Linked DNA regions of Homo sapiens: region 2 is linked to region 1. Evidence: promoter capture Hi-C in human tissues and cell types (Jung and others, 2019). All regions are on one chromosome and are shown on one strand. The core of a region is centred on a gene start or on the middle of the fragment in contact, and the rest is flanking DNA. Distances in the headings are between cores, read along the strand shown. Region 1 holds the start of SCO2 (synthesis of cytochrome C oxidase 2). Region 2 overlaps PPP6R2 (protein phosphatase 6 regulatory subunit 2).

Region 1 (2,700 bases), core at 1-2,500:
GGACCCGAGGCTTGAGCTGAGAGAGCCTGTGCCAAGCTGTGGGGCTCCGAGTCAGCAGCAGCATGGATCTGATGCTCCTGGAAACAAGCACAGGCGTCAGGAGCCAGAAGGGAAGGCCCAGGACAGTGCCTGGGCTGCCCCTGCGACTTGAGACCAGCCACCCATCTGAAGGACCCAGCCCACGTTCAGGCTTAACAGGCATTTGCAGCTGCTCACCTGAGCTCAGAACTCCACCTCCACCAAACATCCACACCTGGGCAACCACACCTGTCACTCCTGTCCTCTACCTGGGATCACCAGCCTGTCACCGCACCCTGCCCTGCACCTGCACCTCAGCAAGGTGAACCTCTTGCTGACGGAAAGCATTCCAAGTGCATGCCTTGCCTGAACTAACCACGTTATCTATTTGCAATAAACCCATTTCTTAAAAGGAGGTGGGTAACTCTCTGGCTTGCAATCCCCGAGAGCAACCGATTCCTCCAACACTTTCCTGTTACCTCCAGCCACTTCAACCAACCGCGGCCTTCCTCCACACTCCCAGCAGAAAACCTGCACGACCTACCCCCGGAGCTCAGACTCTGCCCGCCGGCTGTGTTTAACCTCTCCTGGCAGAGACGCACGACACTTCCACCCGCCACAAAACCCCACCCTCCTCACATCCAGGCTTCCCAGCAGCTCCTCCGGGCTCACAGCCGACGCCCTGCCTTTGCGTTGGTGACCTTTGAGCCTTTCCCACGGGCCCCCGCAGAAGGTTTGCTAGGTGGAGGTCTCAGGACTCCCGGTCACTGCCCCCTCCTGCTGAGGGCACCCTCCCGAGGACTCACTGCACCCCCGCCCGGGCGGTTCTGGGTTTGTGCCCTCCCCAGCAAGGCCAGCGCCCTCGTGGCCAGAAAGGTTCCAGGACCACTCGAAGCGCCGCGCGAGCGCGTTATAACTGTGCTTGGCCGCGAGAACACCGGTGCCTGCTGGGAGCCTCCCACGGGCGCCCCAGCCTCGCTCCGGCCTCCAGCGCGCCCTGGGGTGTGCCCCGCCAGCCCCGCGCAGTAGCCGGAGCTGGGAAACTACCCCGGAGTCCAGCGAGTCCTCAGGGCTACCTCCTCCCCTCCCAGCCCCGGCGTCCGCACCTCGCGGCGGGGCCGCGCGTCAGTGGACCAAGCACGAGAGGAAGCGCCGACCTCCAGCTCCCTGCGCTCTGCCCCGCCGGCTCAGGGAAAGCGGGCGCCACACGCTCACAGGCAGGGCGCAGGCGTCCCCGGAGCTGCGCATGCGCACACGGGCGCAGCCGCTGACAGGCTCTCAGCGCGTGCGCGGAAGGCGGAGCCCGCCGGGGGTCACGTGTTCATCGAGACGGCCCCCGCCTCCGCAGCCCTGGATCCTTCCGCTCCCGCCCAAGCACTGACAAGGTTTCGCGGCAAAGGAGCTTTATTGCTGCGGCGGCAGAACGAGCTCTGCGAAGGGCGAGGGGGCGGCGAATGGCGCGCGGTCGGAGAGTACGAGCGCCTCCTGCAGGGCGCGGCTCTGCGGGCCGCTGAGCGCGGGGCCGTCCCGGTGCACGCGGAGCCAGGGGGTCCCTGCAGAGCGAGGGGCTGTTAGAGGCCGCGCGGCCGGAGCTGGGCGGGGGTGCGGGGCCAGCAGGGCGGGGGCGGCGCTCACCACGGCGCAGCCTCTGACCCACGTCGACCAGCAGCTCTGCGCCCACCCCCAGGCGGAGCGGCTCCCCAGCGCGGCTGCGCCCGGCCCCGAGCTCGTGCAGCACCAGCGCCAGCGGCAGCGCCCGGACCAGCTCCACGGTGCCTGCGGGGAGAGGGGCTGAGAGGCGCGGGCTCGGGAAGGGGCGGGGCCTCGGGAAGGGAAGGGGATGGCGGAGGCGGAAGGACGGGGACTCCCCCGACGCTCACCATCTGCGGGCGCCAGCAGCTCCTCCTGCTCCCGGGCGCGAGGCAGCAGCTGCCGGCGTTCTGCGGGACTTCCCGAGCACAGGGCTCGGGCCAGACCGGGATCCACGCCCTGCGCCGCCAGCATCCGCTCGAAGCGGCCAAGGGCCGAGCCGTCGTCCAGCGCCGCGGCCACCCGGGCAGCGCCCTGGGCCTGAGTCCCCGCGTGTCCGCTGAGCCAGAGCAGGGCGCCCCCTGCGGGCGGGGACGGGTCTTAGGCGCGGCCGGGTCGGGGCGGCCCCAGCGGGAAGCACCCCCCGCCGCCTCCGCTCCCCTACACCCCGTCCCCCTCACCGAGCGTGGTGACCAGGTCCCTTAAGTCTGGCGGGCCTGCGCCGTCCATGCAGAGCAGCGCCTCCTCCACCTCCAGGGCGTGGCCCACGCAGCGACCCAGGGGCTTGTCCATGGCGGTCAGCGCTGCCGCGACCCGAAGCCCTAGGCTGGCTCCCACGCCAACCTGCGGAGAGGAGGCTCAGCGTGGACCCCCCATGGCGGGGCCTTCTGCAGCCGGTTCTTGGTCGAACTCCAGCCCCTGCTGCACCCTGGGTTGCCAGCCCCCCAGCATGAAGTCAGGGAAGGATTGGGGTGGGGAAGAGACACGAGTGAAGTGCGACACCTCGCCATGGGGCCAGGAGGAACTTGTACTTGGTCTGGGGCAGGAACGCCACAGAGGGCTTCCCCAGGTCCAGGCCGGGCCAGCCTTGACCTCTAAAGTCACAGCAGGTTAGGAAGCCGTGAAGGAGGGAGGGACTTCGGGCAGAAGAGG
Region 2 (2,700 bases), core at 35-2,534, 170 kb before region 1:
AAAACAATTAAAATAGTAACATCAAACATCACCGATAACAGGTCACCATAACAGATAAAATAATAATGAAAGAGTTTGAAATATTGTGAGAATTACCAGAATGCAACACAGAGACACGAAGTAAGCACATGCTGTTGGAAAAATGGCACCCCTCGACGTGCTTGACGCAAGGTTGCTACCAGCCTTTAATTTGTAGAAAGCACATTACCTGCGAAGCACAATGAAGGGAAGCACGTTAGACAAAGTACGCCTGTGTTGTTTTCCATTTCACAGATGAGGAAATGGAAATAAACAGCAAGTAGATGATAGAGGCAAGATTTGTACCCCAGGTAGTGTGACTCAAAAGCCTCTCCCTTTTTTTTTTTTTTTGTTAAGGGAAAGGCTAACTTTTAAAAATATTTTTAAAAAATTTTAATAGATTCCCTAGAAGAATAGAGGAAGAACAAAGAAAATTAAAAGAATACATTTTGGAATTGTAACGATAACTGATTATGTATCAGGCATTTGTGTGTTCTTGTTTATGTTCCAATACAATTTTATTTAGAAAAGCTGACTGGGAGGCCGGGCGCGGTGGCTCATGCCTGTAATCTCAGCACTTTTGGAGGCCGAGGTGGGCGGATCACCTGGGGTCCGGAGTTTGAGACCACCGTGGCCAACATGGTGAAACCCTGTCTCTACTAAAAATACAAAAATTAGCCGGGCATGGTGGCACGTGGCTGTAATTCCAGCTACTCAGGAGGCTGAGGCAGGAGAATCACTTGAACCCAGAAGGTGGAGATTGTAGTGAGCCAAGATCATGCCACTGCACTCCAGCCTGGGCGACGGAGCGAGACTTTGTCTCAAAATAAATAAATAATAAATAAAATAAAATGCCTGGGACTAGAGATGTTTTGGATTTCAAATTTTCTCAGAGTTACCAGTTGAGCTTCCCCAATAAGGAATCTGAAATGCTCCAGTGAGCATGTCCTTTGAGCATCATGTAGATGCTCAACAAGTTTTGGATTGGAGTGCTTTTTTTATTTTTATTTTTTGGCTAGTCAAGTGAAGCACTGGGAGTGGAAAAGGAACACAAACATTTGTAGGTGGGCACGGCGCCTCACACCTGTAATCCCAGCACTTTGGGAGGCTGAGGTGGGTGGATCACCTGAGGTCCGGAGTTTGAGACCAGGCTGGCCAACATGGTTAAACCCTGTCTGTACTAAAAATACAAAAATTAGCCGGGCATGGTGGCAAGCGCCTGTAATCGCAGCTACTCAGGAGGCTGAGGCAGGGGTTGCAGTGAACCGAGATCATGCTACTGCACTCCAGCCTGGATGACAGTGAGACTCTCTCTCGTACACGTACATACAAATCTGTAACTGGTTGTGATCAATTAGTTGTAAAAGCTGCTGCACCTGGATCAGCCTTTTTTTTTTTTTTTTTTGAGACAGTCTCATTCTGTGTCACCTAGGTTGAGTGCAGTGGCACAGTCACAGCTCACCACAGCCTTGACCTGCCAGGCTCCTGAGTAGCTGAGACTACAGGTGCCTGCCACCATGCCTGGCTAATTTTTTATTTTTTGTGGAGACAGGGCCTTGCTCTATTGCCCAGGCTGATCCTGAACTCCTGGACTTAAGCGATCCTCCCACCTCAGCCTCCCAAAGTACTGGGACTACAGGCGTGAGCCACTTTGCCTGGCCCAGGATTTCAATTTCACGATTTTTGGTTTAGGGATACTCCTCCTATATTGGAAATCCTGTTATATCCACATACAGCAAGCAGCCTTCTTTTTTTTTTTTTTTTTTTCTTTTTTGAGACAGAGTCTCGCTCTGTAGCCTAGGCTGGAGTGCAGCGGCGTGATCTCGGCTCACTGCAAGCTCCGCCTCCCAGGTTCATGCCATTCTCCTGCCTCAGCCTCTCCGAGTAGCTGGGACTGCAGGTACCTGCCACCACGCCCGGCTAATTTTTTGTATTTTTAGTAGAGAAGGGGTTTCACTGTGGTCTCGATCTCCTAACCTCGTGATCGGCCGCCCGCCTTGGCCTTCCAAAGTGCTGGGATTACAAGCGTGAGCCACTGCGCCCGGCCTTTTTTTTTTGAGATAGAGTCTCGCTCTGTCGCCCAGGCTGGAGTGCAGTGGTGCGATCTTGGCTCACTGCAAGCTCCGCCTCCTGGATTCACGCCATTCTCCTGCCTCAGCCTCCTGAGTACCTGGGACTACAGGTGCCCGCCACCACACCCAGCTAATTTTTTTCTATTTTTAGTAGAGACGGGGTTTCACTGTGTTAGCCAGGATGGTCTCGATCTCCTTACCTCATGATCCGCCCGCCTCGGCCTCCCAAATTGCTGGGATTACAGGGGTGAGCCACTGCGCCTGGCACAGCCTTATTCTTTAAAATGGAAAAAAAAAAACCAAAAAAAAAGCTTTTAAAAATTTTTCTCTTTTAAAAAGTGTACACATAACACATAATTGTATATATTTATGGGGTACATAGTGATGTTTTAATACCTATAGTGTATTTCCCTCTTTTTTTTTTTTTGAGACGGAGTCTCGCTCTGTCACTCAGGCTGGAGTGCAGTGGCGCGATCTCGGCTCACTGCAAGCTCCGCCTCCCAGGTTCATGCCATTCTCCTGCCTCAGCCTCCAGAGTAGCTGGGACCACAGGCGCCCGCCACCACGCCCGGCTAATTTTTTCTATTTTTTTAGTAGAGACGGGGTTTCA

Evidence for each region. Contacts are between HindIII fragments. The study calls those that stand out against the background at their distance.
Region 2: a fragment that was not itself captured here is called in contact with the fragment with the promoter of SCO2 in region 1 in 1 of the 25 tissues and cell types used here (hippocampus).

Annotation. Positions count from the first base shown.
Region 1 is chr22:50,524,348-50,527,047 of GRCh38, forward strand. It overlaps SCO2 (synthesis of cytochrome C oxidase 2), which reads right to left and starts at 1,251. Exons shown (of 2, transcript NM_005138.3): 1 at 1,125-1,251; 2 at 1-77. The coding sequence starts at 64. NCAPH2 (non-SMC condensin II complex subunit H2) reads left to right here. Exons shown (of 20, transcript NM_152299.4): 20 at 1-433. It overlaps TYMP (thymidine phosphorylase), which reads right to left. Exons shown (of 10, transcript NM_001953.5): 7 at 2,229-2,391; 8 at 1,899-2,129; 9 at 1,654-1,794; 10 at 1,405-1,571. The coding sequence ends at 1,423. RefSeq lists silencers at 923-1,222, 1,433-2,262 and enhancers at 2,353-2,652, 2,461-2,700. The HindIII fragment of the contact is 20,776 bases long and covers 403-2,700 here.
Region 2 is chr22:50,353,464-50,356,163 of GRCh38, forward strand. All of the region lies in intron 1 of PPP6R2 (protein phosphatase 6 regulatory subunit 2), which reads left to right. Among named protein-coding and RNA genes, the nearest start is that of PPP6R2, 11 kb to the left of the region's middle. The HindIII fragment of the contact is 4,805 bases long and covers 1-2,700 here.